7 separate regions of the Homo sapiens genome follow, and all the other regions are linked to region 1. The links are contacts of gene promoters, found by promoter capture Hi-C in blood cells and fetal thymus (Javierre and others, 2016). All regions are on one chromosome and are shown on one strand. Each heading gives the region's core, a stretch centred on a gene start or on the middle of the fragment in contact. The rest is flanking DNA. Distances are from core to core; before and after follow the strand shown. Region 1 holds the start of C7orf33 (chromosome 7 open reading frame 33). Region 2 has its middle 29 kb from the start of ZNF786. Region 3 has its middle 16 kb from the start of PDIA4. Region 4 overlaps PDIA4 (protein disulfide isomerase family A member 4). Region 5 has its middle 3.7 kb from the start of GHET1. Region 6 has its middle 26 kb from the start of GHET1. Region 7 has its middle 42 kb from the start of GHET1.

Region 1 (3,667 bases), core at 741-3,240:
GCATTTTAGATGACAGCATTGCGGGATCTCGTTCTTTGTTCGTGGATTTCAGGATGAAGTCCTTCAATGGGGCTTCATGACTGACCAAGGTTTGAAATTGATAATGTCCCCAGATGGGGACTTGCTGATGCGGCTGCATTCACAGCAATTAGAAGATAATCTGGTGTAAAAACTGTCCGGAGAGCGAGGGGCACAGAATCCCTGAGCTCAGGTTGAGCAGGGGAAGAGAAAGCCAGATCTCCATTCTGGAGGCAGAGTTTTCCACTTTTCCCTAAGGGGTCGTCTCAGCAGCCGGCCTCTCAGCTACAACGTGCGGAAATCTCACTGCCCGATGTGCTAATCACAGAATTGCACAGGTACTCCCTGAATCCAACTTGGGTTATTAAAACAACAATGAGGCTTAGGCATTTGGCTCAGTCCACCCCCAGGGTGACCAGCTGGTCACCTCACTCCGCAACCCAAATCCAGGGGATTCATTCGTTGTCTAGGAATAACTTCTTCCACCTTGGGAATTCTCTGATTTACTCTTACCTAGGTCCACTGGTCTTGACCAAAATGTGAGGTGTCCTTAACTTAAGGTTTTGACTTTTAAGAGGCAGTCGAGGAAATAATATTATGAGGTCTGTCTATTTCTTTAGTGGTCAAAGACAGATAAGTAAAAAGGCAAAGCTAGAGTCCGAATGTATGGCTGCAGGTTCAAGATTCCAGGCCAAGTTCTTGGAACTCCAGCACCTCTAGACTCACCAGCCCCACCAGCCCCTCTGGCCCCTCCAGCCCCACCAGCCCCACCAGCCCCACCAGCCCCTCCAGCCCCTCCAGCTCTGCTGCAGGAAATCCTGCCTCAGGGAATCATGATGCACCACCCAAGGAAGTATTTGCAGAAAAAAGAGATTCCATTATTGCCTTCCCTCAAGGGTGGTGTTGAGCCCATTAAGCTTTTCCCCAGCAGTACACAGAGTAATCTTAGGGATTCTGGTGGGAAAAATATCCCAAATTCTGCTTCCTTATGCTTCACCACATGACCCTAGGGCACACGCACTAATCAAGAACAGCCCAGGGCATCCTGTCACCCCCCACGGTGCACCTGCAAACTGGCTTTTACAGCAACCTTGTCTTCCAAATGGGTCCGTATCTTTCTAGGCATCTTTTGTAATGCTAACCTGTTTGGCATTACCCAGAAATGCTAACATTTCTACCACTTTAACTAATCTTAAGAGATTAAATCACACTCCATGATACTCCTGACAACAAATAGCATTTTAACCAGTAATTTACGATAAGAAGATTTTCAATCAGTGGGCTAAGCCCTTCCCTGGTGATTTAAGAAACTGCCAGCCTCGATGGAGATTCTTCCATCAATTCCTCATCATTATAAAAGAAACAATGGAGGAAAAACTCATCCAATTAAGTGACAATTCCAATGTGTAAATCTTGTAATATTTTTTGCATTTGTGATATGGGTTCTACACTAAAAATGCAACTTGTCTAATCTGAATGAGATGAAAAATCCTGAAAAAGGATGTTATCCTCAATATTTTGTTTGTGCCTCTTGATTTAGTAAACTCCCAACCACTTTTTCATCCTTCCCTGCCAAACCCCGCTACAAAATGTTTCTCATTATGACCTGAGACATTAATTCTGATTGTAGAGGTTTTAGATCATTTCTTCTAGGTGTTAATCAGTTCTGGCCATATGGTGAGGGTGAGGTAATCATTATTACTTTACAATGAATGCCCTTAATTACTTTTTCAGTAGTAATATTAGTCCTTCTGTTTATTTGAGTACCTAAGAGCTGCAGGCAACGTGATCTGAATTACATGGAGGACAAGCTCCAGCTGACTTTCCGTAAACTCGCATTAGGATTCTAATAGGAGACGACAGGAGCAGGTGGGGATAATGAGCTGGCGGAAGGGGCTGCCTATCACACTGCTCGGTGGCCCCTCTTTCACCCCCACTTTGCCTCAGGCATTTTCTACTCAGCTGTGACCTTACTTATGGTGATGCCAATCCAGTGGTCAGGAGCGAGGCGCCCAGCCTGTGTCTGAATCCTCCTACTGACCCTGGGGATCCGTGCGACTTGATCTTAGATATTGGTGGTGAAGCGCCGCTCTCCTTGACAGCATCCAGGAAAGGTAATTACCTTTGCCAAAATGCAAGTGGAAGTTCAAAGCCTCAGCCTTGAAGAGTGTCCCTGGAGACTTCCAGGCCCCCAATGTGAATGTGAAGCCCTCCTGCCCAGTGGGGCAAGGCGCCGGATTGACCTTCGCCTGAGTGGGAGGGCAGTCGCTGTTTGGGTCCACGTTAGGGGCGGTCCAGGTCAATTTAACTTGTCATATGCCACGGGAAGACATAAGGTAAGTTAATGATTCTAAGATGAATCAACTGCTCTTTGAGTCAGTCAGTATCTCTTGAGAATTCATTCACTCAATCCATGAATGTTTTTGACTCTCTACTATGTGTTATGGAACTGGGCTTAACGACATTGAAGTAAAGAGAGAGACAGAGATTAATTCACTGCCCCAAAGAAGGCCTGGAATCTTCTTAGGGAAAAGAATCCTCACAAAACACTCCACTGAGTATTCTTGTGTTTAGCCTGAGTCATGTTGATTTGAAAAATTCCAGCGTAAAAATTGTATATTTTCACACAGTGTGGTAGAAGGAATGCGCTTGTTCTCAGACTATGTTTTGCCCTGGAGATGGGTCCACAGGAAGCCTCTATCTTGGTCACCCTTTGGCACAAGCTTTGCACCTGTTCCCTTCTCCTTGCCTAGATTCTTGTCTCTTCTCTCGCTTTAAAGACCAGGAGTTGTTGTTGTTGTTTTAGAGATAGTATCTTGCTCTGTCACCCAGGCTGGAGTGCAGTGTCACAATCATAGCTCACTGCAGCATCAACCTCCTGGCTTCAAGTGATCCTCCCAGAGGAGCCTCCCGGGTGGCTAGGACTACAGCCATGTGCCATCAGGCTTAGCTAATTTTTTTATTTTTTGTAGAAATGGGGTCTTGCCATGTTGCCCAGGCTGGTCTTGAACTCCTGTCCTCAAACGATCCTCCCACTTCAACATCCCGAAGTGCCACCCATGCCCAGCAAGACCTGGATCCTTAACTCTTTGCCTGTCTTTGATCTTTGACACCTCCTGATCCCCAAGCCCCTGCCTCCCACTAGGCAGGCATTTTTGGTTAAAGTATGAGCTCCCACTTTGTATTTATCTCCAGCTTTGGGTGTTCAGTTTGATGGGAACCACAGGTGTCCCCACCTAGTTCTCCAGCCCTAATTTGTTTTCTCCCATGTTGCAGTTCCTGGCTTCTTCCCATTTGCCCACACCCTCATTGTGGCACAGTGCCCCAAACTGACACATGCCACAGGCTCAGAGTATCTTCTGATATGAAGAATGACTCTGGTCATTCGAGGGCAGAGAGGATTTCATGACCTTTCCCTGAGAACAGCAGCATGAACTGCAGGGTCAGCAAGGGGGTTGTGTCTGCCTGCTGCTAAGGTCAGATGCAGACAGCCCATGTCAGGGAAAGCCCATTTAGCATAAGAAGAGTAAAAAGAAGAAAATACCTCCTCAGCCAGGGGTACTTTGATGTGAACCAATACAATTAGTCTCTGAATGATGAATATAAATGATAATCAATGACGTATATGTGCTTAAAAGAAGGTGAGAAA
Region 2 (3,667 bases), core at 828-3,327, 470 kb after region 1:
GCATGGTGGCTCACGCCTGTAATCCCAGCACTTTGGGAGGCCGAGGTGGGCAGATCTTGAGGTCAGGAGATCGAGACCATCCTGGCTAACACGGTGAAACCCCGTCTCTACTAAAAATACAAAAAAATTAGCCGGGCGTGGTGGCAGGTGCCTGTAGTCCCAGCTACTTGGGAGGCTGAGGCAGGAGAATGGTGTGAACCCGGGAGGTGGAGCTTGCAGTGAGCCGAGATAGCGCCACTGCACTCCAGCCTGGGGGACAGAGCAAGACTCTGTCTCAAAAAAAAAAAAAAAAAAAAAAAGGCCGTTGTAATCCCACCTACGTGGGAGGCTGAAGCACGAGACTTGCTTGAACCCAGAGCAAGACTCCATCTCAAAAAAAAAAAAAAAAAAATTAGCCATCGTAATCCCAGCTACTTGGGAGGCCGAGGCATGAGAATTGCTTGAACCCGGGAGGTGGAGGTTGCAGTGAGCCAAGATCCAGTCACTGCACTCCAGCCTCAAAAAAAGCAAGACTCCATCTCAAAAAAAAAAAAAAAAAAAATCAAAAGAAGGATGTTTCATGGCATGTAAAAATGATATGTAATGCAAGTTTCAGAACTCATGAATAAATTTCTATTGGCACACAGCCACTCTCACTTGTTTATGTATCTTTTATGCTGCTTTCATGTTGTAACAGGAGAGTTAGAGTTGAGAAGTTGCAGCAGAAATAGCTTCTTATCTAGCCATTTTGCTTCCAGTTTCTCCAGATTCATTCAACCTACATCATGTGATCAGTTAACTTTCCAATATACAGATCATTCCCTTCTCATTTCTAAAGCCCCTGTGGCAGCCTAATGCCTTTAGGATGCAGGCCAAATCCAATGCAGCATTCAAGGCCGTCCATGAGCTGGCCTCACACAGGTTATTTCCTGCCATTTTCCCCCAAAGAATCCTATGATCTAGCCACAAAAGATGACAGGGCAGTCTTGAACGCACTCCATTTTCACCACCCTTTGTCTTTTCTCAAACCCTCTTGAAATGCCCTCTCCCATCTCCTTAACCCAGGAAAATATTTTTTTCTTTCTCTTTTTAAATCATTTAAGGCCTAGAGCAACCGACTTTTCCTTAGTGAAACCTACACAGGAAGAATTAATTGCTCCGTCCTTTGTATAAGAAATTCACAATACTTCCCAAAGTGAATTCCACAGAATTCCAGTCCTAAAGGGTGTGGCTACCAAATATTTGTAAAAAGTGTTCTCAGCCAGGTGCGGTGGCTCATGCCTGTGATCCCAGCACTTTGGGAAGCCGAGGTAGGCAGATCACCTGAGGTCAGGAGTTCGAGAACAGCCTGACCAACATGGTGAAACCCCATCTCTACTAAAAATACAAAAATTAGGCCGGGAGCGGTGGCTCACGCCTGTAATCCCAGTACTTTGGAGGCCAAGCGGGGCACATTGTCTGAGCTCAGGAGTTCGCGACCAGCCTGGGCATCTGGTGAAACCCCATCTCTAGTAAAAATACAAAAACTTAGCCAGGCGTGGCGGTGTGCTAATTTTCCCAGCTACTTGGGAGGCTGAAGCAGGAGAATTGCTTGAACCTGGGAGGCGGAGGTTGCAGTGAGCCTAGATCACGCCACTGCACTCCGGCCTGGGCAACAGAGCAAGACTCCATCTTAAAAAACTAAAAAAAAATAAAAAATACAGGCCAGGCGCAATAGCTCACGCCTGTAATCAATGCTCATCTTTCCAGAATTGGGAGGCTGAGCCGGGCAGATCACCTGAGGTCAGGGGTTCGAAAACAGCCTGACCAACATGGAGAAACCCCGTCTCTACTAAAAAAATACAAAATTAGCGGGGTGTGGTGGCACATGCCTGTAATCCCAGCTACTTGGGAGGCTGAGGCAGGAGAATCGCTTGAACCCGGGAGACAGAGGTTGCGGTGAGCCAAGCCCCCTTGCGCCATTGCACTCCAGCCTGGGCAACAAGAGCGAAATTCCGTCTCCAAAAAAAAAAAAATTAGCCGGGCATGGTAGCAGGCGCCTGTAATCCCAGCTACTCCGGAGGCTGAGGCACAAGAATCACTTGAATCTGGGAGGCCAGAGCTGCAGTGAGCCAAGACCGCCCCATTGTACTCCAGCCTGGGCAACAAGAGCGAAACTCTGTTAAAAAAAAAACAAAAAAAGTTGGGGGGGGGGCGGTTCTCAGATGAAATAAACTTGGGAAATGACAGATTAAACAAAGTTTAACAGGTTTATTTGTTGCAGGGCCTCTCTGAGCCTTTAAAAATGCTGACAGCGTGGCCAGGCACGGTGGCTCAGGCCTATAATCCCAGCACTTCGGGAGGCCGAGGTGGGATGATTATCGGAGGTCAGGAGTTCGAGACCATCTTGGCCAATATGGTGAAATCCCATCTCTACTAAAAATACAAAATTAGCTGGGCCTTGTGCGCGCGCCTGTAATCCCAGCTACTCGAGAGGCTGAGGCAGGAGAATCGCTTGAACCCAGGAGGCGGAAGTTTCAGTGAGCCGAGATTGTGCCATTGCACTCCAGCCTGGGCAACAAGAGTGAAACTCTGTCTCAAAAAAAAAGAAAAAAGAAAAAATGCTGAGGGCAATTGTAAATCTGCCTTATCTGGAGAACACCTTTGGGAACATGAAGTGAAATTGGGGCCATTGGCAACTATCATTCTCAGCATATGAAAGAAACCTATGCAGTTGGAGAAAATAAGGTCAACACAGAGGGAAGCAAAACTAAGAAGAAAGAGCACAAAAGTGCCCTGAACCACGGCGTGAGCCCCTGCACCCAGCCAGCTGTGAAGACAATCCGACCACTGGGCTTCCTATTACATGAACCTATAAGCTACTTTTTATTTTTCCTTTAGGTACTTTGAGCTGAGTTTCTGTCATCTGCAAGCAAAAGTGCCCTCACGCAATACATATGCCTTTTTTTTTTTTTTTTTTTTTTGAGATGGAGTCTCACTCTGTCACCCAGGCTGCAGTGCAGGGGCATGATCTCAGCTCCCTGCAACCTCCACCTCCCGGATTCAAGCAATTAATTCTCCTGCCTTAGCCTCCCCAGTAGCTGGGATTACAGGCGCCCACAACCATGCGTGGCTAATTTTTGTATTTTTAGTAGAGACCGGGTTTCACTATGTTGGCCAGGCTGGTCTCAAACTCCTGACCTCAGGAGATCTGCCCGCCTTGGCCTCCCAAAGTCCTGGGATCACAAGTGTGAGCCACTGCACCCGGCCCATATGTCTCTCTCAGTGGGCTATTTGCCCCATGAAGGTAGGGACTATATTTTATTTATCTTTCTACTTACCCCAGAATCTGATACATGGGAAGTATGCAATAAGTGTTTATTGATTTCTCCTGAATTAAATAAAGGAATGAAAATTCTGGAAAGATGAGCATTGATTTAACTGGCACATACACTTCTGGCTGTTTTGTGGGTTGCGTTCTAAGACAATAAAGCCAAAATGCAGAGACCCTAAGAAATTGGTGGCAATAAAGCATTTGATTAAGGTATTATAAGGCAAATAGGATACTTGGAAGACATGAACTAGGCATAATTATCAAGGAAATAATTTTTCTCAGGATATCCTACTGATAAGTAGGTTGCTGTCTCCAGAGGCCAACCAAGCAGCCAACAGAAAGAACAGGTAACCTGCAGAGACTTGCTTAGTCTCT
Region 3 (3,667 bases), core at 525-3,024, 450 kb after region 1:
ACCAGCATCTAACTGAAATAAAAGGGCCTTGTTGCTCAGAGCCCAACGGCTGTTCCAACTGTTTTCCAAGGGGCTGGACAACAATGTCCAAGAAGTAAGCAGTGGAGCTGGCTGGGTTGTAGTTTAGGAAGCAAATGCCAGAAGACAGTGGGAGCCCTGGAGTGTGGAATGGGGAGTCTGGGACTGGAGGGCTGCAGATATTAGTCTCAGTTCCCTCCTTACAAGGACTTGGATCTGCCTTCCGTCAAAATCACACATGAACTGTTTTAACCAAAAACACATTTCTGACCAGGCACAATGTTGCCCAGGCTGGTCTCCAGCTTCCAGGCTCAAGCGATCCTCCCACCTCGGCCTCCCACAGTGCTGGGATTACAGGCCTGAGCCACACACCACCTAAAGTCATTTTAAAAAATAGATTTAGAGGCCAGGTGTGGTGGCTCACGCCTGTAATCCCAGCACTTTGGGAGGCTGAGGCGGGCAGATCACTTGAGGCCAGGAGTTTGAGACCAGCTTGGGCAATACAGTGGGATCCTGTCTCTACTAAAAATACAAAAATTAGCCGGCCATGGTGGTGCATGCCTGTAATACCAGCTACTTGGGAGGCCGAGGCATGAGAATTCCTTGAACCCAGAAGGCGGAGGTTGCAGTGAGCCGAGATCACACCATTGCACTCTAGCCTGAGTGAAGAGCAAGACTCTGTCTCAAAAAATGAATAAATAATTAAAAAATTGGCCAGGCACGGTGGCTCATGCCTATAATCCCAGCACTTTGGGAGGCCGAGGTGGGCGGATCACGAGGTCAGGAGATGGAGACCATCCTGGCTAACGTGGTGAAACCCCCTCTCTACTAAAAATACAAAAAAATTAGCTGGGCGTGGTGGTGGGCGCCTGTAGTCCTCAGCTCAGGCTGAGGCAGGAGAATGGCGTGAACCGGAGAGGAGGAGCTTGCAGTGAGCTGAGATAGCACCACTGCACTCCAGCCTGGGCGACAGAGCGAGACTCTCTCGAAAAAAAAAAAAAAAAAGATTTGGAAGTACAGCATGGTGACTACAGTTAACAATATCGTGTTGTATACCTGAGACGTGCAGAGAGTAGGTCTCAAGTGTCCTCACCACACAAATGGTAACTAGGGAAGGTGGAAGATATGTTATAGCTTGGTCATGGTCATCATTTCACAGTGTACATGAATATCAGATCATCACTACACATTAAATATATGCAATGTTTATTTTTCAGTGAGACCTCAAAAAAGCAGTAAAAATGTTTAAAGATATGGAAATAAGTGTATGTGTAAAGATGTCTCTGTGCTCCAGGTATGCATGTGTTCCATGTATGCACGTGTGTTCTATGTTCACATGTGTGATCCATGTACGCACGTGTGTTCTGTGTTCACATGTGCTTCATGTGTGTACGTGTGTTCTGTGTTCGCATGTGCTCCATGTGTGCACTGTGTTCTGTGTTCGCATGTGTGTTCTGTGTTTGCATGTGTGTTCCATGTATGCACATCCTAGCTCTGCCCACTGAGAGGACCTAGACATGGCCACACTTAAATAGCCACGAGCACATCCCGTGTCCAGTTCTTGGCTTCTAACCATTCTCCATTAAAAGGAGCAAGGGCTCCTTTGAGAAATGGTTGATTGCAGTATCAGGACAGGGAAAATATAAATGAACCCAGAACATCTTTTTGTGCCAGAGAGAGCAAGGAAGTTGCCCAAAGAATGCCAGGGACATGCAAAAGGCACAGATGTCTGTGTACAGGGCTCCCACTGGCCAAATCTGAGACAGAGCATCAAAATAATGAGAGAGAAGGATTACAATGCATGGGATAAAACAGGACTACAGGAAATGATGAGTCATAGAGGTATAAAATCTGCAGAGGAATAAATGAAAAACTCCATGAGGAATGGGATATTCACATGATTTCAAATTACCCCCACAAAAATCACAAAAATACTAGAAAGTTATCAAGACGGGGGAAAAGGGGCCAGGCGCGGTGGCTCACGCCTGTAATCCCAGCACTTTGGGAGGCCGAGGTGGGCGGATCACGAGGTCAGGAGATCGAGACTGTCCTGGCTAACACAGTGAAACCCCGTCTCTACTAAAAATACAAAAAAATTAGCCGGGCGTGGTGGCGGGCGCCTGTAGTCCCAGCTACTTGGGAGGCTGAGGCAGGAGACTGGCGTGAACCTGGGAGGCGGAGCTTGCAGTGAGCCGAGATCGCGCCACTGCACTCCAGCCTGGGCGACAAAGTGAGACTCCATCTCAAAAAATAAAAAATAAAAAAATAAAAAGGGGGGGAAGCAACTTCCTTATTTATAGTGGAAGAATCTGGCAGACACTAACTTAAGTGATGAAAGTGAACATCACCAGTAATGAAACAAATTGGAATCGTGTGCCACCTGCTGAGTTGCAACAGAACACAGAATCGCTTCTGGACATGCTCCTCAAGAAATGACCCTGAACTTTCTCAGGAAGACAGACATAGCAGACACACCCAAATTAAGGGGCATTTGACAAAATAACTTTTCTGTAGTCCTGAAGAGCAGCAAGGCCACGGAAGTCAAGGACAGACTGAGACTGTTCTAGACTGAAAGAGACTAGAGAGACAGGACAGCTGAATACAGCAGGCGACTCTAAACTGGCTCCTTTTGCGAAAAGGACATTATTAGAACGATTGTCAAAACGTGAAGGGGCCCTAAGGATTGGCAGTTTCATTCCAGTTTCCTGGTTTTCATGGTTATGGTATCATTTTGATGGTATCACTCCAGTTTCCTGATTTTGATGGTGCCATTGTGGTTATGTAGGAGAATGTCCTTGTTTGGAGGGTAATGGAGCCTCAGGCAATTTACTCTCAAATGGCTGAGAATAAAAGTTCTATGCATTGTACTTCCAAGAATTGAGAGGACAGGATAAAGATGGATGGGCTTGGGAGGCCAAGGTGGGCAGATCACGAGGTCAGGAGTTCGAGACTAGCCTGGCCAACATGGTGAAACCCTGTCTCTACTAAAAATACAAAAATTAGCTGGGCGTGGTGGCGGGGGCCTGTAATCCCAGCTACTCAGGAGGCTGAGGCAGGAGAATTGCTTGAAACCAGAAGGCGGAGGTTGCAGTGAGCCGAGATTGTGCCACTGTACTCCAGCCTAGGCAATAAGAGCTAAACTCCAACTCAGGAAAAAATAAAAAAATTAAAAAAATTTAAAAAATACGGATGGGAATTATTTTACTAAGTGCAATCATGCTCTTCATACTATTCTTTTTTTTTTTTTTTAATAGATATGGGGGTGGTGGTCTCACTATGTTGCCCAGGTTGGTCTCGAACTCCTGGCCTCAAGTGATCCTCCCACCTCAAACTCCCAAAGTGCTGGGATTACAGGCATGAGTCACAGCTCCTGGCCATAATTCTTTTTTTTTTTTTTTTGAGACGGAGTCTTGCTCTGTCGCCCAGGCTAGAGTGCAGTAGCGCGATCTCACCTCACTGCAAGCTCTGCCTCCCGGGTTCATGCCATTCTCTTGCCTCAGCCTCCCAAGTAGCTGGGACTACAGGCGCCCGCCACCACACCCGGCTAATTTTTTGTATTTTTAGTAGAGACGGGGTTTCACCACGTTGGCCAAGCTGGTCTCGAACTCCTGACTTCGTCATCTGCCTGCCTTGGCCTCCCAAAGTGGTG
Region 4 (3,667 bases), core at 707-3,206, 420 kb after region 1:
CTGGTTTTATACATTAATCTGCATTTGACTTATGCACAATTGTTATTGTAAAGCACAGAATTAGCACTAAGTAGCAAGCTGTGCATTTGAAAAATTATAATCAGTTAGCACTTAGCCAAGCTGGTTTTGGTGTAGTGGGAGAGGGTAGCACTCAGAAGACATCAATGAGGATGGCCAGGACCCTGAGTACACCTGTCCCCAGGCATCAGGAGCCAGACCAAGGCAGACGATGGATTTCAGGATGGGGCAACTGCTGCCTGCCCCTACCCCAACAGAACACTATTGCTGACAGCTGTTCACAGTCATTTCACTCCTCAGGCTAGCAAGACTAGCATTTATAATACACTTAGCATTATCAAGTACATTGCTAAGCTCTTCATCTACATTATCTCAGTGTAATAACCTCTCAGAAAAGACCACCACCTTGGGCAAGAGACCACTAGGCTAACTGAGTCACCACCTGTGGTCACAGTGATAATAACTGGAAGAGCCAGGCCTTGAAAGCTGGTTTGATTCAGAGGCCGGCACCTTATGGCCTGAAGACCTGCCCTCCTCGGGCTCTGGAAGGCAGACATGGAGCTGGGACCGGTCTGACTGTGCCCCTCCCCTGCACCGAGGCCAGGAGGGCCACAGGGGACCCATCTCCAGCCCCAGCCCCAACTCCAACCCCAGAATGGAAAGCTTATTCCCAGAGATGGCTCATCAAACCACCCCCTAATGGATGTCCCAGGAGCTTTCTGAAAAACCAGGCAACCGCAGACGGCCCAAGGCACGCACATTTTGTTCAGCCCAGAGGGCCACAACTCACCGGCATCCTGGTATTGCTGGTAGGCTGGGTCACTCTCCCCCTTAAAGACCCCGATGATGATGACATCGTCTCCATCCTTCAGGAACTCCTGGACCTGCTTCAGGGTCAGAATCTCCTTGGAGGGAGGCCCGGACTGCTCGATCATGTAATCAACGATTCCTGGGAGCAGGGCACACGCCTGAGCAGGGGCACTAAGAACTGCCCACTTCCCATGGCCCATGCCTGCCAGCCCCCAGCACCTTCAATGGCAGCTTCCTGTTAGGGAGTTTCCCTTCCCCACTGTAGTGGGAGAGAAGGGAGTGGCCATACCATATTTTTCTCGTGGGCCGTTGTAGTCATAAGGCCTTCCTTTGCGGAAAATTTTCAGGGTGGGATAGCCAGAGACATCAAACCTCTTGGCCAGGTCTGTTTCTGCGGTGGCGTCGACCTTTGCCAGGGGAATTGGAGGAGAACGCTTGCTGAGCTCCTTGGCGGCCTTCTCATACTCGGGGGCAAGTTTCTTGCAGTGTCCACACCTGCCAAGAGGAAACTGGTTTGTCAGGGGCTCATTCTAGTGTGGACTCACTTTCTAGCTAAATGAGCTGCAGAAACCCATCCTGTGCTCCCTAGTAACCTGGCCACACCCAGTAAGCCTCCGAATGCCTCCTAGACCCTCAGGCCCTCAGGTGCTGTTGAGGGCGCTACCGCTGGACAGACACAAACTTCATCCCACAGCATTCACACACTGGGGGTGGAGCATGCGTACACACATGTACAGGACACAGACAGGACATTAGTAACTGCGGCACAGGGGAAAACATGGAGAGGCCAAGAGAGACACTGTCCTGAGCAAGAGGACTTTCTTGGTTGGAGAGTTGGGGGCCAGCAAGGATGTAAGTCATAGATGGCTTCAGAGGAGGAGTAGCAGTGGAGCTAGGATCCAAGGGACAGCGAGGAATTAGCCAGGAGCCCACGGGAGGTGGGGCGAAGAGAGGGTCGGCAGGTCCAGGTAACAAGAACAGAGGCATGGAGAACAGAAGAGCGTCACAAACCCTCACTGACACAGACCACCCAGGGAGGAGATGAGGGAGAGTCCCTTGGAGTCAGTATTGCGTCACACAGCCCATTGCCCACAAGAACTGGCCGGGCGCAGTGGCTCACTCCTGTAATCGCAGCACTTTGGGAGGCCGAGGCAGGTGGATCACCTGAGGCCAGGAGTTTGAGACCAGCCTGGCCAACATGGCAATACCCCGTCTCTACTAAAAATACAGAAACTAGCTGGGCATGGTGGTGGGCGCCTGTAATCCCAGCTACTCGGGAGGCTGAGACAGGAGTATCGCTTGAACCCAGGGGGCGGAGGTTGCAGTGAGCCAAGATCGCACCACTGCACTCCAGCCTGGGCAACAGAGCAGGACTCCGTCTCAAAAAAGAACCAACATCCCACACCCAGCTGGGGCCTGGCACACAGGAGGCTCTCAGTCCTGAGTTAAGATAAAACACCATCCTGTCAAAGTCCTTAGGACACCCAAATGAATTAAAGGGTGCATCTTGCAACTTCAAAACCATTTGTTGGCTGGCACAGTAGTTCATTCCTGTAATATCAGTGCTTCCAGAAGCTGAGGCGGGAGGGTCGCTTGAGGCCAGGAGTTCAAGACCAACCGGGGCAACATAGCAAGACCTCATCTCTAAAAATATTTTTTATATTAGCTGGGCGTGGTGGCACACACCTGTGGTCCCAGCTACTAGGGAGGCTGAGGCAGCACAATTGAGCCCAGGAGTTCAAGGCGTAGTGAACTATGATGGTGCCACTGTACTCCAGCCCAGGTGACAAAGCAAGGCCTTATCTCAAAAGAAACCTAAGAAAACAAAACAAAAAAAACAAACAACCTCCCACCACACACACAAAAACACATCAAAAGACCAAAAAACTGTTTGTGAATAAATGGATAATTATCTTCTGAGGCATCATCAACCACTTCAGGGAAATCGCACTACACTCGCTGAGCGTGCACTGTGCAGCAGTCGGCTCAACCTGGCTCCTGAGCGAGCCACAAAGCAACCCACCAGTTAGATGTGCAGCTGCCACTCTCCCTCTCACACCTCCCACCCATCAGGCCAGGGCCCCATGCATAGCGAAACAAGGGTCTGTGTCTCTCCAGCATCGCAAGGGGGTTAGAAGGGTGCCCCACGTGTCCCAGACGCTTCCTTCCTTCTCTCCCAGATCATTTCCTTCTCTAACCACCCACCTGACTTCACTTTTCATCTGCACATCCAGCAACTCCCAGGTTTCTGCTGCAGAATCTGTGGCCTCAGGTTTGGGCTTATCCAGGCATTGCCTGGAACAAGGGTGTCCTGGTCCCAAACCTGACCCCACAGTGCAGAAGGTGCCACCCACCCCCCGGCCTGTGCATCAGCCATGGCCTCCACCTGCTGGTTCTAGGCCCAAAAGCTTCCTCTGCTTACTGACTCTCCCAGACTCCCTACAGAACACACCCATCTGAGGCGGTTCTTGGTGGCCTGATGGTCAGACATACCAGGACTGCTCAAGAACCAGAACCACAGCTGACCCACCACAAAATCACCAAGACAGATGGTACCCTGGGCCGTCTCCTGGGAAGGCAGATGGTCTCTCCTGAAGCCAGGCTCCCCTCTCCCTTGAGAGCCGTCTTCTTCCGCTCTGCTCTCTACTCTGACTGCTGCCAGCTTATCCACGCAACTGGTTGTGCGTCCCTCCCCTCCCCTCCCCATGAAGCAGCCACCTCAGTTCCCCAAGCTGGGCAGCTCAGACCAGCCACTGTACTTGCTCCCACTCCGACCACCTCTCTTTCTGCCATCTTCTTTCCTTTGGGTCCCTTCTCCCACCCAAGAATGGACTACTTG
Region 5 (3,667 bases), core at 402-2,901, 390 kb after region 1:
CCCAAAGTGCTGTGATTACAGGCAGGAGCCACCGGTCCGGCCAAAATTTTATATTTTAAAAATCAATTTAAGGCCGGGCATGGTGGCTCACACCTGTAATCTCAGCACTTTGGGAGGCCAAGGCGGGTAGATCATCTGAGGTCAGGAGTTCGAGACTAGCCTGGCTAACATGGTGAAATCCCGTCTCTACTAAAATTACCAAAAAATTAGCCAGGCATGGTGGCGGGTGCCTGTATTCCCAGCTACTCCGGAGGCTGAGGCGGCAGAATCGCTTGAACCCGGGAGGCAGAGGTTGTAGTGAGTAGAGATCGTGCCATTGCACTCCAGCCTGGGCGACAGAGCGAGGAGACCCTGTCTCAAAAAAAGAAAAAAAGGAAAGAAAATTTAAGTGTGTTTAATGTAAAAGTGAAAACACACAGCCTTTACGCAGGGAACACAAGATATAATACTTGGTAGGTGGAAAGTTCATTTCATAACATGAAATCTTTTTCTAAATTTGAAAAAAAAAAACTTTAAAATGGACATATCTTCTTTTTTAAATTGTTAATTGCTTCTTTTAAAATTAATGGACTAATCGCAAAATCCAGTGATACATACTGATTATTTCATGCGTTTTACTGAAAATAATTTTGTAGTAAGAGGATTGTTCAAAATGACCCGCTCTGGGGGTCAAGGGGTCGGGCCCCCACTGCAGAGCCTGGAAAGGCAAAGACCCCCGAGGCTGCGCTCCCCTCGCCCTTCGTGTCGGGTCCTGCCCCACCCGGCAGCTCCTGGGACCCGCTGTGCGGCCCAGGGCTGGGGGCCCAGGCTGCCCCTGCTGAGAAGCCAGGTGCGCGTTCAGCCCCCGGGAGTCTCTCCGAGGCTCTGTGCGCCTCATTCCTCCACGGCGTCACTTTTTAAAAAGATAATTGCTAATTATGTATTTTAAAATGTTAGCTTCCACGGACCGAATGTTTCCCTTTCTGTTTAGAGTGGGGTTCCTAACCTCCTTCCAGAATAGCTCAAGGTCCCCAGTGCAGCCGCTTTGAAACAAAACCACTTGGTAACAGGAGCGCAGGACTATGGCGAAACCGCCAGGAAAGCTTCCTAAAGAGCTCAAACAAAACAAAACAAACCTTGGAAAGCTCAAGAAAAGCATCGTGGGTGACACCAGAATCTGGGACTTCATTCATTCATACATTCATTCATTCATTTTTAAAGAGGGTCGTTGGGAAGGAAAAGGGGAGGGGACGCCGGGCTGCAGGGCTCCTCGCAGGACACACGCTCCCCCTCCACGGGGAACCGGGGGTGGGGGCGCGGGCGTGGGGGGCCGCGCCAGCCCTGCGTGGGGTCCGGGACCACCGAACCGCGGGGACCCCTGATCCCGGGGGGGCCACTGAATTCCAAGGGGCCCCCGCCCGCCCGGCCCCACCCCCGCGGCGGGTTGCCTCTTCCTTCTTAAGAGGACGTCCCCTCCCGCTCTAGACGTCCTGGCCCTGTGAGACTGAGGCCCCGCCGGGGGCACCGTGGGAGTCTTTGATGGATGTGGCTGATGCAGGGTTTCCATGCAAATCACCCACAATGCTTTGAGCAGGGTTGCCCGAGCTCCTTTAATGTCACTGAAGAGAGAAGGACCTTTTTCTTACAAAGTCTATGTGTTTAACAGTTTTATTTTTTAAACATTTGCTTTCTATTTGGGGTGTATTTATACTCTTCCTTTTTTTTAGCTCCTGTGAATAGTCACCGTAACTATGGTAGAGATGGAACTTTCGAGGCTTATATAAGTAGCAGCGTGCCTTTGTGTTTCGGCTGGTCCGAGTGCAGTGGTGTTTACAACTAATTGATCACAACCAGTTACAGATTTCTTTGTTCCTTCTCCACTCCCACTGCTTCACTTGACTAGCCTTTTGCTGTGGTTTTGGGGTGGGAAAGCATTTTCTGTTCCCCAATACAGAACAGCCAAGATCCTGCCTGAAGGTTTTTCTTAAGCACACCACTACTTGCCAGTGAAGATGACTAGTGGACAGAGCACATTAAGTGTTTTTAGGAGCCTGGCATGCTCCGTGTTGAAAAGGGAGGTCCCCTCGTCTCTGAATTGTACCTTGAGAATAAGGAGAACCATAGGTTTAGGTGACCTAAGGAATGAACCATGTCTCACGCACCTCCTTATCCACGGTGTCAGGCATGAAGAAGAGGGATCCAGGAGAGGGCAAAGGTCCGCAGAGTGCAGTGGTAAGAGAGCAAGCTTTTCAAATTGCAAAGTAATGTACATAGCATGATTCTATTTCACACTGAAAAGTAAAACACTTTGCACATCTGTGCTTAAGCTTGTCTGTGTTAATACAGTATTAGCAAGATCAAAGATGAAGAAAATCCCAAGCTGTTAACCTAGAAATGATGCAGACACGAAGCTTTCCTCTTTACTGTGTGGTGGGGAAACTGCTCACCTCGGACACGATGGTTCATGGTATTATCTCTAAACCTGGATCCACCAAGCTTTGCTTTTCTTGTAAAACATAAAGATTTTGGTATTGGAAAATATCCCCTTTCTCTTCGCAAATGCCGCGCTTTTGCAAATCAAAATTATTTTGGCTTCAAACTACTGTCTGTGCAATGACAGTAGGATATAGTGTGCAATATTTGGGACATACTTATGCTAAAAATCTATTTACACTATTGTTCAAATTTGACCAGGCATCCTGTATTTTATCTGACAATCCTATCTTATTCAAATACGTCTTAGGAAAGAACTAATGCCAAACTCTTTTCTTCCTCAAGTTATCATATTACTCTGAGCTGGCCTTATAGTTGCACTGGGCATTCATTATTGCTTTGCAGATATTATCTGGTTAGGAAGTTTCTGGAGATAGGATACATATGTCATCAAGACTGATAGAATTGTGCAGTCTCATATCTGTGGAATGAAATCAACCTAAAGTCAGAGAAATTGACTCTGCTCTCGTGTTAGTTTCGTAGTGTCCATATTAACAGTTATTCCACCATCAACTACATACTTTTTTCTCTCTCTCTCCCTCCCTCCTAACTATCCATCCATCTATCTTTTAGTTTTTAGCAATGTTTCCACTGACTGGAATAGTACAGCAATTGGTTTCATGGCTTTGTTGACATTGTTTGATTGCTGGTTTTTCTTTGCGGGGTAGCAGAGAGAATACTTTTGGGGAAGAAAGGTTATTCTGGCTCTGCAAGCAATGAACTCAGTGGCTGACTCTCGGCTGCTTATGTGATCTCTCTCAGAACCTCAGTTTCTTCATTTGTAAAATGATAATGTCTGTCATACTAATTTAACTGGACTGCAAAGAATATTAAATGAAATAGGTCATATGAAAATACCCTGTACCTTATAAAACACAATACAAATGTATTCCTTTGCAAATATCAAATGGTGACTATGGCCAATAGACTGTTACTCTCTTGCAATATCATTTAATTGCCATTATTCCTGAGATACAGTGACAGTCCTGTGTTCATAGCTGGTACGTGATCATAGCAACATCAGTTGGCTTGAACAATCACTGTAATTAAGGCATATCTATTATTGAAGAAGCAGCAAGCTAGCTGTACGGGAAAAGCCTCGGGACTTAGATTGAGGAGACCCTTAAGTCTTGACTTCCTGATTCAGTTACCTCTCACCAGGTTCCCCCTCAACACCTGAGAATTACAATTCAAG
Region 6 (3,667 bases), core at 797-3,296, 370 kb after region 1:
GGCAGAGGGTCATGACAGAGGCCTGGGTGGAGGCAGGCTGCACAGCTGAGCCTGTGGAAGACAGGAGCCGGAGAAACAAGGAACTTTAACATCCTTTGAAGGCAGCAGGAAGCCATGAAATGTTTTCCAGCATGTTTTGAAGAAAAGTACAAGTTAACTTATGGAAAGTATTTACCTATGACCCCTATGGCCAAATGGCCCAAATTCCTTAAAAAAATGATGATTTTTCCAGGTAGACCAAAGCAAGACTGTGGGGTCTTTGCATTCACTTCCTTTCTGTCTGCCCTCAGGTTCTCAGCAGCACCCAGCTCCAGCCCCAAGGCCTCTCCTGGATGCGCCTCTAGGACCTTGAGCTCAGTGTCTGTTCAACCCCTCACTGAACTCAGTTCTCCACCTCGGCCATTTGAGATGCTTAGTGAAATCCAAGGATGACTTTAATAGTTATTCACACAATATTTCCTTTAAATAAACTTGTTTTAATTAGTTACTTCTTTTTCATTTCTTTTTTTCTTCACCCCTGAGTAGAGATTTATTTCTTCTTATCCATATTGAAGTTTAATTTGTATACAATAAAATGTACCCGTTTTAATTATTCAGTTCAATGACTTTTGGCAAATGTATATGCACATGAAACCACAATCAACTTTTTTGGCCAGGCACGGTGGCTCATGCCTGTAATCCCAGCACTTTGGGAGGCTGAGGTGGGCAGATCACCTGAGGTCAGGAGTTTGAGACCAGCCTGGACAATATGGTGAAACCCTGTCTCTACTAAAAATTACAAAAATTAGCTGGGCGTGGTGGTGCCCACCTGTAATCCCAGCTACTTGGGAGCCTGAGGCATGAGAATTGCTTGAACCTGGGAGGCGGAGGTTGCAGTGAGCCAAGATCATGCCACTGTACTCCAGCCTGGGAGACAGAGCAAGAGCAAGACTCCGTCTCAAAAAAAAAAAAAAAAAAAAAAGCAGCTTAACAAATGGGAGGTGTTAAAGACATATTATCGTCAAACTAAGATTGTTCTTCCTTGAAGAACTTTACTAACTTTACATCCAGTGCTAGCTAAAATTCCTCATACCCCACCAGTGATCCAGCCGTCCATATCTCACACTTTCTATACTCTCTCTAATGGCTCGGAATCTGTTGAGCTGTGTGTCATAGGAAACCCAGTAACAGTGGCTTAAACTCATGCAGATTTAGTGTCCTCTTGTTGCAGAAAGTATGGAGGTGGGCCGTGTCCAGAACTGGAGCAGTGCCCCACCTGTCATCAATGCACCAAGACTTTTTTTTCTTTCTCTTAGGCCTTCCTAAGTGAGGGCTTTTGTTCTCGTGGTCTCAGGATGGCTCTCCAGCCCCACACCCCCAAACCTCATTCCAGGGCAGAGGAAGGAATGCAAGTGTGTCTTCTTTCTCTTCTCTGCTCCTTTTTTATTATTTCAGTCTAATTTTAATGGTTCCAAAAGGAATTGAGGCAATTGCTGGTGGGCAGCCTACCATGTTAAACAGAAGTTGATTATTTATGTTTTAACAAGAGATGTGGCTGGGCGCAGTGGCTCACGCCTGTAATCCCAGCACTTTGGGAGGCCGAGGTGGGCAGATCATGAGGTCAGGAGATTGAGACCATCCTGGCTAACACGGTGAAAACCCGTCTCTACTAAAAACAAAAAATTAGCCAGGCGTGGTGGCAGATGCCTGTAGTCCCAGCTACTCCAGAGGCTGAGGCAGGAGAATGGCGTGAACCCGGGAGGCAGAGCAGCTGGCCAGCCCTCCAGGAAATCTCAGCTAGTCTACTTTGGAAAGTTGTCCTAATCACTGCTGGAGCAATCACCAAGTTGAGGGTAGGGACTGTGTCTTTTCTGTATTCTTCACTCTCTCTCCGGAAGCCTCAGCCCTTCACATCTCTAAGCCCAGGTCCCAGAACAATTATAATTCTCATTCCAATTACTTTAAAAAAATTCCTGGGATTAGCTGAGCTCAATACATATGAAGGTGGGGAATGTTATGCCTTAGAAAGTAACATTTCCAGCCAGGCGCGGTGGCTCATGCCTGTAATCCCAGCACTTTGAGAGGCCGAGGAGAGTGGATCATTTGAGGTCAGGAGTTCGAGATCAGCCTGGAAAACACAGTGAAACCCCGTCTCTACTAAAAATACAAAAATTAGACGGGCATGGTGACATGTGCCTGTAGTCCCAGCTATTTGAGAGACTGAGGCAGGAGAATGGCTTGAACCTAGGAGGAGGTTGCAGTGAGCCGAGATCAGGCCACTGCACTCCAGCCTGGGCAACAGGGCAAGACTCCATCTCAAAAAAAAAAAAAAGAAAGAAAAGAAAGAAAGAAAGTGACATTTCCTAAGCATTCAAGTTAATCATAATCTTGAACATACATTTTCTTCTGTCAGTTGAAACCTTCCAATTATTATTAAAACTAATGGCAAAAACCACAATTACTTTTGCACCAACCTAATACTTTAACATTTGGTATGTTAAAATATGAATGACTTAAAACAGGAAAATTGAGATTTGATAGGCAAAGATAATAATAGTTAAGGTTTATTGATCACTTTCTAATCCTTTTCATTCCTTTTTTTTCTGGTTAATGTGGGATTTCTTACTAAACTCAGTGAGAGTGCTTATATCTAATCATTGAGAGGGATTTGGCTTTCATTGATAAAACCATTGGTAAAAGGCTGTTTTCAGGATTATGGCAACTTCTCAATGCCAGCAGCAACCTGTCTGAAAGGTGAGAGATCTGAGCATATTAAACCTGGCGTACCCATGTGATTTATAGGAACTATTAAGGATTATCAGGAAAAGTCCCAGGAAACAACCAGTGTGAACACAGCGTGTTCGTGGGTGATGTGAATACAGCGTGTTTGTGGGTGATGTGAAAACAGTGTGTTCGTGGGTGAGGAGTTCTCTGGTCCAGGCTCCGTGGGAAAGTGGATGGAAAGTGCATGCTCTGGGCACTGCTGCCATCTGCTGCTGCCTTGATTCAGGAAGGCATTTTGCAGATCACAGGCAGGGAGACGACAAAAAAAAAAACACCAAAGCTCATTTTGTTGACATTAAATGTTCAACGTTTCTATTGCTGGGCATTTGACACAAATATGTTCATTTACTTTTCTTTGATTCATGAATGTCTTCAGGTATTTGCAAAGGACAAGAGGCTTCCATTTGGTAATTTACGTCTATTTCCCATCATGCAACTACATTTATTTTGAATATCAGTTTGCATTAAGCTATTTAAAATTAAAGGAAGATAATCAGATAATGTATGGCTTTTTGCAGTATTATTTTGTAGGGGTCATATAATATCAGACTTTTTGGAGAATTCTTAAAATAACTCATCCTAACTTATTTAGAGTAGCCACTTCAGAGATTTATAAAATGAAAGTGAAAGCAGTTTTTCTGGCTGGTCCGATGGTAGTGGGTTATCAGAACTTATTAACATTAGTGTCACTAAAGTTGGTATACAACCCCCCACTGCTAAATTTGACTGGCTTTTTACCATTTGATTTTGTATTTCAATCAAACAAGCTAACTTTACAAAATATTCATGTTGGGGGGAAAGCATTCTTACATAAATGTCCCCCTCCTTTTCTTTTTAGGGTCTTACTGTGTTGTCCAGGTTGGAGTACAGTAGCACAATCATAGCTCACTGTAGCTCTAAACTC
Region 7 (3,667 bases), core at 804-3,303, 360 kb after region 1:
GTATATATTATGTATATAATATAACATATATTATGTATATATTATGTATATAATATAACATATATTATGTATATATTATGTATATAATATAACATATATTATGTATATATTATGTATATAATATAACATATATTATGTATATATTATGTATATAATATAACATATATTATGTATATATTATGTATATAATATAACATATATTATGTATATATTATGTATATAATATAACATATATTATGTATATATTATGTATATAATATAACATATATTATGTATATATTATGTATATAATATAACATATATTATGTATATATTATGTAAATATAACATATATTATGTATATATTATGTATATAATATAACATATATTATGTATATATTATGTATATAACATATATTATGTATATATTATGTATATAATATAACATATATTATGTATATATTATGTATATAATATAACATATATTATGTATATATTATGTATATAACATATATTATGTATATATTATGTATATAATATAACATATATTATGTATATATTATGTATATAATATAACATATATTATGTATATATTATGTATATAATATAACATATATTATGTATATATTATGTATATAATATAACATATATTATGTATATATTATGTATATAATATAACATATATTATGTATATATTATGTATATAATATAACATATATTATGTATATATTATGTATATAATATAACATATATTATGTATATATTATGTATATAATATAACATATATTATGTATATATTATGTATATAATATAACATATATTATGTATATATTATGTATATAATATAACATATATTATGTATATATTATGTATATAATATAACATATATTATGTATATAACATAACATATACTATGTATATAACATATGTATATAACATATATTATGTATATAGTATAATATAGATATTATGTATAATGTATATAATAGATATTATGTATAATGTATATGATAGATATGTATAATGTATATGATAGATATTATGTATAATGTATATGATAGATATTATGTATAATGTATACGATAGATATTATGTATAATGTATATGATAGATATGTATAATGTATGATAGATTATATAATGTATATGATAGATTATATATAATGTATATGATAGATATTATATATAATGTATATGATAGATATTATATATAATGTATATGATAGATATTATATAGTGTATATGATATGATATATTACATATAGTGTATATGATATGATATATATTATATATTGTGTATATGATATGATATATATTATATAGTATATATGATATGGTATATTATATATTGTGTATATGATATGATATATATTATATATTGTGTATATAATATAAGGAAAAAAGTAGCATCCTTACAGAACATGAAAAACGTAAAAACAACCATAGAGAGAGAGAGAGAGAGAAAGATATCTTGTTGAAATGAATGCTATCATCCCTTGCATTTCAGGGAACTCTGCAAGGATCCTGCCTCCTGGCACTAATTTTTTTGTGCCCTTGTGTAATTCCCTCTTCCTGAGTGTAATCTGAACTTACTGACTCATTTCTAAGGAATAGAATAAGACAAAAGTAAAGTGCCTCTCTCCTTTGCCGGGGAAAGCCAGCTGTCACGTACTGAACAGCCCTACAGAGGCAAAGAGCTATATATGCAGCCAACAGCCAGGGAGGCCCTGAGCACTGTGAGAGGGCTTGCGGCCAATCTCTCCCCAACTGAGCCTTGAGATGACCACAACCGTGGACCACACCTTCATTTCAAGCCTGTGGGAGACCCTGAGCCTGAGCACCCAGCTAACTGTGGCCAGATTCCTGACCCACAGCTAGTGTGAGGAAATCAATGTTAGTTGTTAAGTGTTGGGTTTGTTTGTTATGCAGCCATCAATAACTAATACATGCACTTTACCAAGAAGTGCTGCCATTGCTGAAGCATATTTGGAACCCTTCTGTTTTGAAAGTCTCCTTCAAAGTTGAAGTGTGACCCATGCAAGAAAATGGGTCGTGTTATTTTACATCACTTCATTTTTGCCAAGACAGTGCTTCCCATTGCGTTATCATATTCAACGTCCTTGACTTTGATGGACTCTGGACCGTTTTAAAAAGCAAATCTATCTTCAAAAGAGGAAAATTTGCTGCCCCAGAGATACCAAAAAGAATATTCCACGGCTTCTGAAGACAAACTCATTTGGTTTTATTTATTATTTTATTTTATTTACCTTTGAGTTGCAATCTCACTCTGTCACCCAGCCTGGAGTGCAGTGGCATGCACTCATGGCTCACTGCAGCCTCGAACCCCTGGGCTCAAATGATCCTCCCACCTCAGCCTTCCAAGTCACTGGGACTACAGGCACGTGCCACCATGCCTGGATAATTTTTAAAAAATATTTTCGAGGCCAGGCACGGTGGCTCAAGCCTGTAAACCCCAGCACTTTGGAAAGAGGCCGAGGAGGGCACATCACGAGGTCAGGAGTTTGAGACCAGCCTGGCCAATATGGTGAAACCTCATCTCTATTAAAAATACAAAAATTAGCAGGGCGTGGTGGTGCGCATCTGTAGTCCCAGCTACTCGAGAGGCTGAGGCAGAAGAATCACTTGAACCTGGGAGGCGGAGGTTGCCATGAGCCGAGATCGTGCCACTGCACTCCAGCCTGGGCAACAGAGCGAGACCTTGTCTCAAAAAACAAACAAAAATTTTTCGTATCCATCTCTGAAGTATCTGGGGAAAAAAAGAAAATAAAAATATTTTTGTGGCTGGGCACAGTGGCTTACGCCTGTAATCCCAACATGTTGGGAGGCCAAGGTGGGCGGATCATGAGGTCAGGAGTTCGAGACCAGCCTGGACAATATGTGAAACCCCTCCTCTACTAAAAATACAAAAATTAGCTTGACGTGGTGGCGCGCACTTGTAATCCCAGCTACTCAGGAGACTGAGGCAGGAGAATTGCTCGAACCGAGGAGGTGGAGGTGGCAGTGAGTTGAGATCACACCATTGCACTCCACCCTGGGTGACAGAGTGAGACTCCGTCTCAAAAAAATATGTATATATATTGGGATCTCAAAATTCTGGCCTCAATTGATCCTCCTGCCTTGGGCTCCAAGTTTTTATTTTGCTTTGTTTTGAGACAGGGTCTCATTTTGTCACCCAGGCTGGAGTGCAGTGATGCGATCTCGGCTCACTGCAGCCTCGAACTTCTGGGTTCAAGTGATCCTCCCACCTCAACCTTCAGAGTAGTTGGGACTACAGCGCAGGCCGCCTGGTTAGCTTTGTATCCCAAGATTTTGAATACATTTTGATCAATGGCTGTATCCTTGGAGTAATTTTTCCAAGCGATTATTTTGAAATGGATAATAGAGTATTTACTTTGGATATTGAATGCACCAATTCCTCAATGAATGAGTTGTGCTGTGTTTATTTATTTAGTATCTAACAAAAATATAACACTTCCTACTGATGATAACTCTATGTGGTAGGTGCCATTATGCCTGTTTTACAGCTGAGGAAACTGAGGTAGAGGAGTGGCCCACGGGCACACAGCAAGTACGTGGCACAGTAGGAATCTAATCCAGGCAGTCTGGCTTCTGGGACTTTGCACTTTACTACAAAACTAACTTGCTTCTGTGTTTGTTCACTTTGTTTT

The links. The method cuts DNA at HindIII sites, captures the fragments that hold promoters and counts their contacts. A CHiCAGO score of 5 or more calls a contact.
Region 2: a fragment that was not itself captured here is called in contact with the fragment with the promoter of C7orf33 in region 1 in 4 of 17 cell types (total CD4 T cells, activated CD4 T cells, non-activated CD4 T cells and 1 more); the score reaches 6.7 in total CD4 T cells.
Region 3: a contact is called between a fragment that was not itself captured here and the fragment with the promoter of C7orf33 in region 1, in 1 of 17 cell types (activated CD4 T cells). The highest score is 6.3, in activated CD4 T cells.
Region 4: a fragment that was not itself captured here is called in contact with the fragment with the promoter of C7orf33 in region 1 in 1 of 17 cell types (activated CD4 T cells); the score reaches 5.9 in activated CD4 T cells.
Region 5: a fragment that was not itself captured here is called in contact with the fragment with the promoter of C7orf33 in region 1 in 8 of 17 cell types (activated CD4 T cells, naive CD4 T cells, non-activated CD4 T cells and 5 more); the score reaches 9.6 in activated CD4 T cells.
Region 6: a contact is called between a fragment that was not itself captured here and the fragment with the promoter of C7orf33 in region 1, in 17 of 17 cell types (activated CD4 T cells, naive CD8 T cells, total CD4 T cells and 14 more). The highest score is 29.4, in activated CD4 T cells.
Region 7: a fragment that was not itself captured here is called in contact with the fragment with the promoter of C7orf33 in region 1 in 2 of 17 cell types (total CD4 T cells and activated CD4 T cells); the score reaches 6.2 in total CD4 T cells.

The regions. Positions count from the first base shown.
Region 1 is chr7:148,588,776-148,592,442 of GRCh38, forward strand. It overlaps C7orf33 (chromosome 7 open reading frame 33), which reads left to right and starts at 1,991. Exons shown (of 3, transcript NM_145304.4): 1 at 1,991-2,354. The coding sequence starts at 2,151. The HindIII fragment of the contact is 1,806 bases long and covers 934-2,739 here.
Region 2 is chr7:149,059,642-149,063,308 of GRCh38, forward strand. No RefSeq gene overlaps it. Among named protein-coding and RNA genes, the nearest start is that of ZNF786, 29 kb to the right of the region's middle. The HindIII fragment of the contact is 5,726 bases long and covers 1-3,667 here.
Region 3 is chr7:149,042,749-149,046,415 of GRCh38, forward strand. No RefSeq gene overlaps it. Among named protein-coding and RNA genes, the nearest start is that of PDIA4, 16 kb to the left of the region's middle. The HindIII fragment of the contact is 8,171 bases long and covers 1-3,667 here.
Region 4 is chr7:149,011,038-149,014,704 of GRCh38, forward strand. PDIA4 (protein disulfide isomerase family A member 4) reads right to left here. Exons shown (of 10, transcript NM_004911.5): 5 at 1,118-1,323; 6 at 809-967. Among named protein-coding and RNA genes, the nearest start is that of PDIA4, 16 kb to the right of the region's middle. RefSeq lists a silencer at 1,774-1,940. The HindIII fragment of the contact is 2,555 bases long and covers 680-3,234 here.
Region 5 is chr7:148,981,969-148,985,635 of GRCh38, forward strand. It overlaps RNY3. Among named protein-coding and RNA genes, the nearest start is that of GHET1, 3.7 kb to the right of the region's middle. RefSeq lists a silencer at 1,390-1,489. The HindIII fragment of the contact is 1,142 bases long and covers 1,081-2,222 here.
Region 6 is chr7:148,959,912-148,963,578 of GRCh38, forward strand. It overlaps RNY4. Among named protein-coding and RNA genes, the nearest start is that of GHET1, 26 kb to the right of the region's middle. The HindIII fragment of the contact is 4,489 bases long and covers 1-3,667 here.
Region 7 is chr7:148,943,834-148,947,500 of GRCh38, forward strand. No RefSeq gene overlaps it. Among named protein-coding and RNA genes, the nearest start is that of GHET1, 42 kb to the right of the region's middle. The HindIII fragment of the contact is 8,358 bases long and covers 1-3,667 here.